2 separate regions of the Homo sapiens genome follow, and region 2 is linked to region 1. The links are contacts of gene promoters, found by promoter capture Hi-C in blood cells and fetal thymus (Javierre and others, 2016). All regions are on one chromosome and are shown on one strand. The core of a region is centred on a gene start or on the middle of the fragment in contact, and the rest is flanking DNA. Distances in the headings are between cores, read along the strand shown.

Region 1 (2,700 bases), core at 115-2,614:
GGCGTTTCAGGCATCACAGCGAACCCAGGAAGCAGGTGTGCGGCTGGGGTCCCAACCTGCCCTGCAGAAGGGCTAACTCTCTCAAGATGTGGGATCTGTCCATAGCTCCATCAACCACTGCTCCCCAAGAGCTGGAGTCCTGTCTTTTACTCCTCCAATGATGGGGTGCTCCCCACCTTGCAAGGCAGCCCACAGCCCCATGTTAGGAATTATTTCAAAAGTATAATGAACATGATGGGGTCATTCAGGATAGGCCTGCTTCCTCTTCCTCCTGAAAGTGCACGGGACAGCTGAAGGAGCCCTCAGGCTCCTACGGAACAGGCCAATGTGCCCCACACCCTTTGCGTCCCAGACTGCCACAGGGACCTGCTCCTCATTGCCCCTCTGCCACGACCTTTCCTTGTCCCTAAAAGTAAACAAAACCCACATGACACCACAGCTAGAAGGTTCTGAGACCCTTCATACAGACATGGAGACAGCCCCAGGTGGGCAAGGGTATTCTCAAAGCCACCCCGGGATTTAGGGCAGAGTGGGGGCTGGAAGGCAGCTCTGGCACTCCACACTCACAGGAGAGTGTCCTGCCCCAGTCCAGGTCTCTCCTTGTGCCCAAGCCTCTGAATGTCTCCCAACCCTAATCTCTGTCCTGCTTCACCTCTTCCCATAAGCCCCACATGCCCAACCCAAAAGCTGCTGGCCACATGCCCACGCTGTGCCACCCCAGGTGTCTGTCCACAGTCAGGCCAGGATGTGGGCAGGGGACACAGGAAGAGCTAAGGGAAAGATGCCACAGAGAGAGGGGAGTCATTAGAGAAGGAAGGGCTGGGAGGTCTGGGCAAAGCTAGGTGTCTGCACGGGGGCTGCAGGGCAGTGGCAGGCAGGACAAAGCCTTCTCTGGAGCAGGTTCCCATTAACACAAGGGTTCCCCTTGGAGCCCACGAGGACAGTGCAGAAGGTGAGGATGTTTGACTCATAGAATGTCAGCCAAGAGACCCACGGAATGGCAGGGGATAGAGCTGTACCTTCAAAGGATCCCATAATCCCAGATGATCTGAGTGGAAGCCTGAGACCCCGAGACAGGCCGCACTTGCCCAGCAGGGCCCATCTGCCTGGACTCCCCATCACCACATCCACCCTACCACAGAGAGCGGCAGCCTTACCCGAGAGATATTGAAGTTTTCCTGCACTTGGATGTTGTCGGGCGGCGTTGGCACAGGGCCAGCGCTCACCGCCAGGCAGGCGCTCAGCAGCAAGAGCAGGGCCCCGAGGCTCCTCATGGCTATGGGCTCCTCTGCCTTGGTATATCCCACAGGCTCGGTCTAGCAACAGAAGGGCCACCGCCTCCCTGCAACAGGGCAGCTGTGAACTGAGGCTGGGGAAGGGGCCTGTGGCTTGTAGTTGACCTCAGTGTTTGCCCTGCTCAGCTGGGGCCAATTACAGCCCCAAGGACAGCTCCAATCGATCCCTGTAGCCTGGCTGGGGTCAGCAGTACCAAGAGGCCGGGATGGCTGCTTCAGAAGAGGCATTGGCCAAGCACAATAGGGCCCTGGAGCACCAGGATTGGGCTCCGCCCCCCAAAAGTCCCCCACAGAGGGCATGCGAGGATGGGGAGCGACCTGGCCTTTCTGCTGAGTCATGCCATCTGGACCTCACAGCTCTGTGAGCCAGCAGGTCAAGCCTGATTGGGCCCATTTCTCACAGGAAAAAACTGAGGCCCAAGGAGAGGAAGTGACTTGCCAGAGACCTCAGGGAAGTCTATGGGCAGAGCCAAGACCAGAACCCAGGTATCCTGTCTCCAGAGTTCCTTCTCCAGCCCCCAGGCTTGCCCTAGCCTTTGCAAATAATAGAGACATTAACAATGATGACTGTTACGAGCTTCCGTTCACTGAGCACCTGCTATGTGCTGGCTGTGTACCAGGCACTTTACACGTGCCACAGGTGTCCAGTAAATCCCCACAACAAGCTTACGAAGTAGGTGCTATTTGTCCCCTTTACAGGCAGAGGAGTTGAGTCTCCAAGAAGTGAAGTGACTTGCCCAGAATCCCTCAGCCGGGAGTGGAGTAGCTGGGAAAGGCGTGGTAGAGACCATGGACGTGGGAGCCAGGCAGCCTACAGTGGCACTCACTGCTGTGTGACCTTGGGCAAGTCACTTTACCTTTCAGTGCCTTGGTTTCCTCATCTGTAAATGGGGATAATAATAGTTCCTAGCTCCTAGCATTGTTGAGTGAGCACCTGCAATGCGCTAGGACAGTACCCAGCATAGAGTAAGAGCTGAGTGTTTGTGGTGGGTTGAACAGTGCCCCCTCCAGAATCCATGTGCACCCCGAACCGCAGAATGAACCTGATTTGCAGATGTGATTAGTTAGATGAGGTTGAACTGGATGACAGGGGTTTTAAATCCAATGACCGGTATCTTTATAAGAGAATGGTGAGGGAGACTCAGACACAGGGACACAGAGAGAAGCACGGGGAAGATGTGGCGTGACGCCGAAGGCAGAGATGGGAGGGATGCAGTGACACGTCAAAAATCACCAAGGATTGATGGCAGCCACCAAAAGCTAGCAAAAGGCAAGGAAGGACTTTTCCCCAGAATCTTCAAAGGGAACATGGCTCTGCTGAAAATTTGGTCTCAGGTGTCTGACCTCCAGTGCTGAGAGAAGACACATTTCCTAGCAGCCCTAGGAAACTAATACAGTAGTTATT
Region 2 (2,700 bases), core at 4-2,503, 1.1 Mb after region 1:
CTTTCTCAGGTGACATTTTAATTAGGTTCCCCTTCAGTTTTGTTGTAACTAAAGCATTGAAAGTCATCTGACTTGCAGAATGATTTGCTGCAAGGTCATTAGTCATTCACTTTCTCAACACTTTTTCTCGAAAGAATTTTGAGTTGTACCTTTGTTTGGTCCCCCAGAAATTTTTATACCCCAAAGCAACTCGAGATGAGTGAGAGGTATGAATTCCATTTGTAAAGTGAGAGAAAAGCATTTACGAAAAAGGGACTCTCTTCAGATTCCTGAGAAAGAGTGCAAATGAAAGCTGAGAATCTGAAAATTTCCTTATCTCTGCCAACTAGAGCCCATGGAAAATCTTTGAGTAACTCTGGGGGTACTATGCATCACAGTCTGAAAATTATTATATGGGATGTACTTTCTATACTTAAATTAAATTTCCCCATGGAGGCAGCATTGTTATACAGGTGACAATGAGATAACAATGCAAAGAAACCAGAAGTCAAGTTCATATCGACTTATATAGCTCTGTCTCCATAAGTCAGAAACAGGAAAAATTAACTTGTTCTTCAGCAATCTAGGTTGACTTCATGAACGAGCTGGCGTTCAAATGAATCCTTGAATTGTGGAAACAGAATGTTAAATCTGGAATGAACTTCAGATATCATCTAGTATGGAGAGGACAATTAAATGTTGACTTTTACATCAATTTGGATTAAATATTTGTGATTGCTTACAATTCTGTGTCAAGAAGTAGTCAGAGGAATCATCTGAGATCTGTAGGAAAGCATGTTGTGATTGATTAGCTATGCCTGTCAGAGGAAGCAGGGAGAGAGGGGCACAGGTGATCTGCTCTTGCCCCCCTAGGTACATAGTCCTTATCACATGAACCACAGGGAAAACTGAGGCTGACTGAGAGCAGGAAGCTTGACCAAAACTCCACAGTGAATTATTGCCAGGATGGGTAGAATTACATATGTTTTATTCAACATTTGGTGGTCATTGTAAATTTGGTAACATTTGCAACTGGAAAATTTGGGGATGTTTTAGAGCTGGAAGGGAGCAAATTCTTAATTGAGCAATACACGCTGTCCTTTCTTTCAGGCTCCTTCACATTTGATCTCTGTGCAATTTGATAAGAGGAGGGAATGGGCCGTCAATTATGAAGAGACTGAAAACCTGAAAATACTGAGTATGGTCTTAGTTCCCTCTCCAAAGGGAGCTCAGGAAAAATGCCAAGCCATACAAGCCACTGATTACTCATCTAGCTATTGTTTCTACCTCACCCTGGCCCAGGAAGACAGATCTACTGAGGAAAGGTAATAGAGGCTGGCAAGGTTCCTACTTTTACATCTATCTGTAATATCCACTCATTCTTAGCATCTTGCACATCCACAGGGCCGTACAGGAGTCTTCTTGCCTTGTATTATTGAATCTTGGGATAGGGGTAGGAACAGACAGAGGTATTAGCAGAGATCCAACAGGATGTAAAACATACATGTTGATGCAGGGGTTAACTTTATGTATAATAAATAGATTTTTACCATGCATACCAAACTGAATATTCCTTCCTCCTTTTTCTCTCAGACCTCTTTCTATGTGTGGCTCATTCTTTTACTCTACAACATAATGTTCAGTTGATTCTGGACTTTTTCTGTGACAAACAATGCTGTAATAAACATCCTCCTTGTGCATTCATCTGGGTGCACTTCTGAGAATTTATCTGAAGGATAAATTCCTAGAAGTAGACTGTCTGTAACATAGGGTCTATGCACTTTCAATTTCCATAGATTCTGCCAAATGGTTTTCTTAAGAGGTTATACCAATTTACACTCTCAGCTATGGTATATGGTAACCCCTGCTTTCCCACAACCTGCCAACACTGGGTATTTACAAACATAAATAAATGGAGGGTTTGAATAATTGTAGTTTTGAATTAGACTTGGGGCGTCCCTCTCATCTGCCCCAACTTGTGTCTCCCCAAAGCAACCTAACTAGGGGATGGCTAATGCCATAGACTCTGAGGCTTACTCAGAGCAGAGGCTGAATGCTCCTGCTTCAGTGGGAACAGGGGGTGTTTCTTCAGTCTGTGCCCTACTTGGCATCTGTCCCTGACAGACCCAGCCAGTGTGGGGAGCCAGCCTCTCTAACCATAAGAAAGAATGGATTGGAAACAAATTGATCTTTTCACAGCTGGCTGTTCCCCTCTTTCCCCTCAACTTGGACTCAGCTCAGAACAAGGTTGCCGATGTTCTGCTGCAACAAAGATGGCATTATTGAGGACTGCCTCTTTGGGGGGAAATGTCCTTCTCCAAGAATCGCCTCTGTAGTTTCAACTATGACAAGCCTGGAGACCGAGCATAGCTGTGCATCTCCAAGGGTCTCCAAAGCGACACCCAACTCTATCCGTCCTGTTGATGACCATGTACTCTTCTATTGGTGTCCACAACTTTATTTAAATGATGTCAGATGACTCAATTCAACAGAATCTAACCCTTTATTCATCCTCCCTGGAGACCTGTGGTCAGTGGGCAGGAGAGTTTGGGATTCAAAAAGAGGAGAACTGTGTGAACACAGGGAAAAAGGATCTAGTGTTTATTTCTAGCAACACCATTACTATTGCTGTCCATCCTATTATTCTGCATTCTTTTGCTTCATAGCATTTTTTTAACTGAAAGAAATGGCTCCACGAAGGCAGAAATATTGTTTAGTTTA

What was found. The method cuts DNA at HindIII sites, captures the fragments that hold promoters and counts their contacts. A CHiCAGO score of 5 or more calls a contact.
Region 2: the fragment with the promoter of DELEC1 here is called in contact with the fragment with the promoter of AMBP in region 1 in 4 of 17 cell types (activated CD4 T cells, non-activated CD4 T cells, naive CD8 T cells and 1 more); the score reaches 9.1 in activated CD4 T cells.

The regions. Positions count from the first base shown.
Region 1 is chr9:114,076,936-114,079,635 of GRCh38, forward strand. AMBP (alpha-1-microglobulin/bikunin precursor) reads right to left here and starts at 1,365. Exons shown (of 10, transcript NM_001633.4): 1 at 1,158-1,365. The coding sequence starts at 1,274. The HindIII fragment of the contact is 5,279 bases long and covers 1-1,958 here.
Region 2 is chr9:115,140,565-115,143,264 of GRCh38, forward strand. DELEC1 (deleted in esophageal cancer 1) reads left to right here and starts at 1,254. Exons shown (of 8, transcript NR_163556.2): 1 at 1,254-1,304. The HindIII fragment of the contact is 2,096 bases long and covers 910-2,700 here.